2 separate regions of the Homo sapiens genome follow, and region 2 is linked to region 1. The links are contacts of gene promoters, found by promoter capture Hi-C in human tissues and cell types (Jung and others, 2019). All regions are on one chromosome and are shown on one strand. The core of a region is centred on a gene start or on the middle of the fragment in contact, and the rest is flanking DNA. Distances in the headings are between cores, read along the strand shown. Region 1 holds the start of RAB20 (RAB20, member RAS oncogene family). Region 2 holds the start of LOC105370356 (a long non-coding RNA gene).

Evidence for each region. The method cuts DNA at HindIII sites, captures the fragments that hold promoters and counts their contacts. A contact is called where the count stands out against the background at its distance.
Region 2: a contact is called between a fragment that was not itself captured here and the fragment with the promoter of RAB20 in region 1, in 1 of the 25 tissues and cell types used here (lymphoblastoid cells).

Annotation. Positions count from the first base shown.
Region 1 is chr13:110,559,249-110,562,971 of GRCh38, forward strand. It overlaps RAB20 (RAB20, member RAS oncogene family), which reads right to left and starts at 2,474. Exons shown (of 2, transcript NM_017817.3): 1 at 2,100-2,474. The coding sequence starts at 2,271. RefSeq lists silencers at 2,034-2,093, 2,073-2,262, 2,154-2,603. The HindIII fragment of the contact is 6,225 bases long and covers 1-3,723 here.
Region 2 is chr13:109,156,368-109,160,083 of GRCh38, forward strand. All of the region lies in intron 32 of MYO16 (myosin XVI), which reads left to right. LOC105370356 (a long non-coding RNA gene) reads right to left here and starts at 3,421. Exons shown (of 5, transcript XR_931717.3): 1 at 3,325-3,421. RefSeq lists enhancers at 1-483, 1-441, 442-991, 2,982-3,487, 3,488-3,716. The HindIII fragment of the contact is 6,045 bases long and covers 1-3,716 here.

The DNA of each region.
Region 1 (3,723 bases), core at 1,224-3,723:
GCAACTTTCAAAATGGTTCCTCCTCCGGCTGGTCCTTACCATTCTGCCTCGGTTATGACAATTACAACAAAAACAACTTGAAAAGCAATGTCTGTGGGGTGGAGAGAAAGTTTAGGAGCTCAGCAAAAGAAGGAAAAGAACAGGGTCCCCTAAATGTTAAATTCTGAATTTCCAACAATTATAGAAAAGGTATCTGTTCCTACCTCTCTTTTCCCTTCAAGTACCCGGTCAGGCCACAGGCCACCGAGGAGGCAGGCAAGGGTGCCCTGTGTCCCTGCCAACTCTGGGCAAGGGCCGCCTGAGTGTGTACACAGGAAGTCAGGAATGTGGAGAAGGGGCCTGGCCACTCTCTGTTCTGAGGAGCTCTAGTAATTCACCCTTAGGATCTTTCGAACAAGCAGCAGCAGCCTCGGATGCCAGGAAATGAGCTGCTGCCCCCCAGTAACGCTTCAAGACATCTGGGGCGTCACATCAGCACAACTGCAAAATCTCTGGTGATCAGGATTCCGGCTGCATCACGTCCTTGGTGCTGAAGAAGCAAGAGGCCAGTGGAAACGAAACTGCTGCTTCATTCCCTCCGATGCAGGGGCCGTTCCAGCACTGCAGGGCAGCTCTTGTTCCAGAAACACACCGTGTGTTAAGAGTCTGCCTCCAACGGTGGCCACTACAGGGGTTTCGGTTAGGGTCCCCCAATAACACTCCTGCATTAACCTTGCTACTTGTAAACCAAGGGCAGCAGTAAATCCCAGCCAACCAGCAAAAGCAGCAGAGGGGCAAAGCTTTGTACAAAACCAAATTGGGTTCAATTTGACTTTGTACAGAAGCAAATTGGGTTCGTGAATTGGGTTCGATTTGACTTCTAGAGCGTGTGTTCCATCGTTACCAAATGCTCAGTGTGAGGGAGTCAGCTCAGTAAACCTCATCCTGCAGCCTGAGGCAGAAGACAGAGTTGGAGCAAAGATCAGGGAAATGCACCTCTTTACCTGGGGGACATTGTTTTCACAAGATGATTGCCAATAAATTAGTCACGATGTTAACTGGGATAATAATAAAAAAGCATCAAAGAAGGCAAAAGGGAGGGGGAGAACTGGAAGTACCTCTGTGAGCTTCGTTAATTCAGTTTTAAAGAGAGAATTCATTATCATCTTGTTTATTCAGCATACTGATACACCCAAGATGGCAATTTAAGAATTCTGGACGGGGCCTTTGGGTATATGACTTTTTAAGATGCTAACATAAAAGAAGTCAGAACTTTCAGAGTTTCAGGCTTCTAAAAACTCACACTCATTGAAAATGTGTCACACTATTTCCAGTTTCTTCATTCACTTACAATATCTTATTCTTTTGTAAGGAGAAGGAAATATATTCCATTGCAATGCTACAATCACCAGTGTTATTTTCCAAAGTTAAACAGAAAGCCTGAATTGAGATCCTCTAAGTTGTACTTTTGAAAAGTCACAAATACTACACAATAAAAATAACTCATTACCTATCTTAAAAATGCTTCCACCGGAAGTCACTCCAACCCAAACCCATATGACGTATCTGAGCCAAGATCAAGCAGAAGATTAACTGTAAAAGGCAGATATGCTCCGGGCTAAGAGGTCCGGAGGCTCCAGTTTTATTTCCTCTCTCCTGACTAAACCCAACAGGGGGGAACACTCTGTGCCTCATTTTACTTTTTCTTAGAAAGGGGCTAATAACACCAGCTCTGCTCACCCCTCAAGTGAATCTCAAAGGATATCATGTTCCTACGGGTACGTGAAAACTGAAAATACCTAACAAAGCAGCCACAGAGGAGCGTCTCTGGTTCCCAGGGCGGCAGAGCAGGAACGCGGGGCTCGGGAGCAAAGGCAGCTTAGGTACACAAATGACCAGCGGGTTCTCTGCAACTTGGGTTGTCCCTGAGGTCACTGAGTGGCTGAGAGGCAGCGCTCAGCCCAACCAGCAAGGGAGGACGAGTGGGAAACCCCGAGAAGGAGGCATTTGCTGTCCGAGGCCGGGACCCTGTGCGCGGCCGGGTGCCCTGCTGGAAGCCCCGCGCCCCCCGTCCCCGGCGGAGCCCCAGGGCGGTGTGGCTCATGCGGCGCCGGCCTCACCTGCGGTGTCCCAGATGGAGATGTTGTAGGAGCGCCACTGCTTCAGGTAGAAGGCGCCGCCCACCGTGCTGACCGTGTCCGGGAAGCGCCGCTCCATATACCGCTGCAGCAGCGACGTCTTCCCCACGTTCATGTCCCCCAGGAGCACGATCTTGCTGTCGGGCTTCCTCATCTTCCCGTAAGAACCCCCAGCGCCCCCGCGCCCTCTCCCCGAGGCTGGCCGGCTCGTGCGCCCTGGGCGCAGCTGGAGGAGCGGACCCCGGACTCGCCGGGACCCGGATTCTCGTGAACGCTCCGGGACCTTCGCCTCCGGACGCCCGGGAGCTCAAGAGAGGAAGCGCGTGTGCGCGCCCGGGAAGGAGCTGGGTGCAGAGCACGGAGCCCACGTCGGGGGCCCGGACCGCGGCGGCCTCGCCTCGCCCCGCCCCCGCCCCCGCCCCCGGGCCCTTTCACCGCCGCGGCCCCGCCCTATCCTCCTCCGCCCACCGCCCCCGTCCCGCCCCTGCTGGACCTCGCCGTTTCGCAAGCATCCGAGTTCTCCAGCCGAGGCTCGGGACTGCTGCAGGGTGGAAAATGAAAGTTCTGAGAGCACCTTCCGCCCCTCCGCTTCTGCACAGCCGGGGCTGCGGTGCGAGGAGCTTGGCCGCGGGGCCCGAACGAGGCGAAGGGGCCGGGGCCCTTGGGGAACCCCCTTCTCTCTTCCACTCTCCCTTAGGTAAAACCCGTGTTCCTCTCACGCTCGACCCAGCGCCTTTCCAGCTGCGGTCGATTTGCTTCTCCGCGTGTAAGTACAGCCACCCTCAAGGTCATTGAAAAAGTTTGCTTTAAATGAGCGTCTGCGGAACTCGTCCTGAGGCTCTCACTGTTACAGATTAGAGATGGGGGCGCTTTCTAGTGGAGGATTTTGCTTTTGCTCTTCTACTTTTGCAAGAAGCTTTTTGTCCTGAAAAGTGGACAGTCATCTCCATTTATAGCTTGGAATGAAAATTTGACTATGGAAGTTGCAGTCGCTACTTGAGAAATATTTCCTCCTTCTTTTTTTTTTTTTTTTTTTATTTTTGACACGGAGTTTTGCTGTTGTTGCCCAAGCTGGAGAGCAGTGCGCGATCTCGGCTCACTGCAACCTCCGCCTTCCGGTTTCAAGCGATTCTCCTGCCTCAGCCTCCCGAGTAGGCGGGATTACAGGTATGTGCCACCATGCCCGGCTAATTTTTGTATTTTTAGTAGACACGGGGTTTCACCATGTTGGCCAGGCTGGTCTCGAACTCCTGACCTCGTGATCCACCCGCTTCGGCCTCCCAGGTCCTCCTTCCGTTTTAAAGGATAAACCTTGAAATGCTTTTAAAATATGCAGCGTGTAGAATTTGGTTAGTTGGTTGGTTGGGGTTTTTTAGAGAAAATGAGAGGTAGAATGGACTCTAAGTTAAACCCTGGGGGACAGTGTCACTCTGGCCGCTGGCCTGGCTGGGAAAGGCGATGAGACCCTGAGCAGGTTAAAACCCGTGTCCTGAAGGTGTCCTGTAAAGGGAAATAGGCCCGTTGCCTCCTTCGTAGGTGCCCTGAGACTCCGACAAGGCAGGAATGCCAAGGTATTTCGTACCTGCTCAGCCCTGGCATGTCAGGT
Region 2 (3,716 bases), core at 363-2,862, 1.4 Mb before region 1:
CCCTTCATGCAATAGCCTTTCTGAAGAGGAATTTTCCTATAGAGTTTCAGAATGAGTTATAGCCAGTATGAGTAATGAGTTTAAAATGTATTTTCACATTTTTTATGCCTTACATAGCACTCTCAGTATTAAGTCAGCCAAACAGCTATAGTTTGTTTTTCTCCTGCGTTACTGAAACCCGGATCCCATCTCATAGGATTCTAAAATACACTCTAATCTGATCTCTAGCGCAGGTACCTAAGAGAAAAGTGGTGTTTTCAGCATCTTGTTGGGGAAACATTCCATGGCTCCTTTCTCTCCCCTGCTTCCTGGCCTTTCCCCAGCACTGACGCTGTCAGCCGCCCTGCGTGCCACACAGTCCTGCCCTCTGCCAAGGCTCCTGGCCTGCAGCCCCTCCTGCAAGCCCACATCTGCCCTCCTGCACGCCCACATCTGCCCTCCTGCACGGCAGTCACCTGGGCGTCCCCTCCTGCTACCTCCTCACACTCGAGAGTGTCTCTTCCTTGAAAATTTCTCCTTCCTGAGAGATTTTTAAGTCTCTCCTAGCTGTTTCCTTTCCAGTCCTAATAAATTCTCTTCTTCAAAAAATTGCCACTCAATTTAATCCTCAGGCCTGCGGCTGTCACTTCAAAGTCAACAAGTACAACCCCAGATGCACCCTGCTCTTCAGGTGGGAGCTGCTGCTCTGAACCACGCCCCAGCTGTGGTCCCCATCAGGTCCCAGTTCTCCCGCTCAGTGGGATTGAACTCAGCTTCCTCCTGCCTTTCCACTCCTCCTTCTGCTTCCCCAGCCTCTCCCCTGACTCTCTTTCTACTTCTAATCTCTCCTCAAGGTCCATTCAGCTGTATACTTTCTTTGCTAGATTAGTATTTACAAAAAAAAAAAAAAAAAAAAAAAAAAACCTTATTCTTCACAGCATGCCCTTGCTCAAAATACTTGCTGGAACCCAGTCCTGTGATGCTCATAGACTCCAAAGCTCTCTGCTCCCACTTCCCGGTGCGGAGGTGTGGGCAGAGCCAGCCTCCCCTCCCTCACGAGTGCAGTCAGCTCTGCCTCTGCGGCATTCCCTTCCTTTTCCCTCCCCCTCTCCACATTCCGTCCTCAACTCAAAATCCACTGCTTCTTCCTCCTGCCTACACAACAAAGGCTCACCTGGCTGCTCCAGCCCACTCTGACCTCTCCTAAGAATTCCTAGAGCATTTTGCAGAGCTCCCATCCCAGCCCCCTGGCCCTTTGCAACCTTAACACATGCCTTGAAGGCACCTTGAAGACAGTCCCCCTTAGAGCTGAGTCACCACAGAGAAGCCTGGGGAAAAGCACCCCTTAGAATGCACCCTGGATGTCCCTGTCACATGGGTTGGCATTATAAGTGTCAAAGGCTTTAACAAGTGAATAAAACCGTCAAAATTAGCTCAGCTGAGCAGGATGCGAGTCCCACAGTGATGCGTCAGATTCTTCATTCTTCTATACCCCTCAGGATAGATGTAGTCCCTTTTCTTCTTGCACTTACCCGGTCGTCATAAATTCTTGTCATCTGCCGTGCTCCATAACCCCTCTAAAATGTGAGCACTCAATGGATTGTTTCTTTCGGACGAATATTTCTTTAAGTTCTAAAGTAAATCTTAGCACCAGGTTTGGACCTTGTAGGACGTGAATACCTGTTGAATCAGTGGAGAGCTCCCTAGCTTGGGGGAGGAATATAGTTTGCTCATGGTCCACCCCTCTTCCTTTCTTCTTCATTCAGCTCTCATGTTCCCCAGAGTGGCCACTGCGCTCCAGGGCATCTCTTTGCCTTCCCAGGGCTGAACCACGTGCTGTCCGTTCTGCCAGGTTTCTTGTCACTCTTGGTTTGGAGCAAGGACTCATCTTAACTCCCATTATGCTCCCTGTCTTTCTCCAGCTCTCCCAGAATTATTCAAGGACATTTCTCTCTCCCCACTAAGAAACGTCTCTCCACTCTTGCAGAGTTTTTGCATTCTTCCTTAAGAGAAGTTCCTCTTCTCGCCTTCCATCCTACCTCCCCCTCCCTCCACAAAATCCTTCCTGTGTCTCCTCTCCCAGACACATCCCTGATGTTAACTTATTCATACCTCTCCTGTCATGGCAAACTTATAAAACAGTCTTGTTACTGTCTGAGGAGTTGGACTTTTCCCATAAAACATTTCCAAGGTGAGCCGGAGGTGACGTTGCCTTTGTAGTCTCATCCAGTGACCTCACACCTATTTCTCCTCCCGCCTGTGAATTACTCAAAGGTAAAGATTTCATCATGTAGATTATGGCTAGAGGCTCTATGCCTGAGACCCATTTTGGTTTTTGTCCAGAGATTGAAGCATATGCAATTGGGGAAAGGTGAGCTTTTTTAAAAAAATAATAATAAAGATGAAAAATGAACATTTAGAGAGTTAAGTGGACATTTATTCAAAATGAGAAAATAAATCAAAGTATACGTTTACAAAGTATTACAAATGTTAACTGTTTGTACATTGCTTGAGTCCCTCCCTCGGCCTTGGAAGAGGCCTGGGGAAGATAGGGGTGCATGGAAGCCCCTTCACGTAACTACGGGTCAACCCACTGTGCCCACTCCAGTCACCAGGATTCCAGAGTCACACTCAGCACAGCCAAAGCATGCCAACATTCATCAAATTGATTTTTATCTCCTGATATTACAGATTGTAAAGCAATGTAAAGTACAATTTTAAAAAACTATGTATGGACCTTGTGTCTTTGAATTCTCAAACCATGGGTCAGGAATCAGTTTCAAACAACCATAGGTCCTTTCTCTCATAAGTTAACAAGCTTAGGTAGAAAACAAACAGCTCCACTCCATTGCATAAAAGAAAATATTCACCTCATGCAATGAGATATTTTCCTTATCTTATAATTTTAAATAAGTAAAGATCAGCACTCAAAGGTGGATTAACACTGAAAGTGCTTCCGTAAGTTGTCAATCTTGTGTGAATGGGGAAAAATGATCATTGTGGTGCGTGGCTTTACTGTACTTATTTGCATAAAATTTTCATTTAGTAAATGTGCAAGCTATTTTACAGGTATGGAAAGTGTAGCTCCTTTCAGAAAGAGAATTTCTATAGCAACATTATTAAAACTAATTTATTGTTCATTCATCTTTTTTCTTTTTCAACAAATATTAATTGAGTGCCATCTGTGAGCCGGGCTCTATTCTAGGCACTGAAAATACAACGCACATTGTATTTGCCCACATTCCAGAGGAAGGAGACACAAAACAAACAATTGGGCTGTTCTGTGCCATGCAGTGAGAAGGACTGTGTAGAAAACTAAAGCAAGGAGTGGGGACAGGAACTGACCTGGCGAGGAAGACAGGTGCTGTTTTTCAGAAGGTCATCCAGAAGGCCTGAACACAGTGCAGCTGCCATGCCCTGCTGGACGCTGGAGAAGGAGAGAGAGGCTGGGAGGCTGACAGGGCCGGGAAGGCAAGACCGAGGCCAAGGCCTAAGGCGTGTAAGGGGGGCTGGGGCCCAAGGCCAGCAGGAGTCAGGGCATGCAAGGTCCTCTCAGCCTCAGGAAGCCTTTGGATCTTAATGTGAATCAACTCAGAAAGCAGCAGAGAGGCTGGAGTCGGGAATGACATGATCCGACTTATGTTTTAAAGCGAGGTTTCTCGGCCTCAGTACAATGGACATTCTGAGCTGGATACTATAATTCTAGGTTGGGGGACCGTCCTGTGTGTTATAGGATG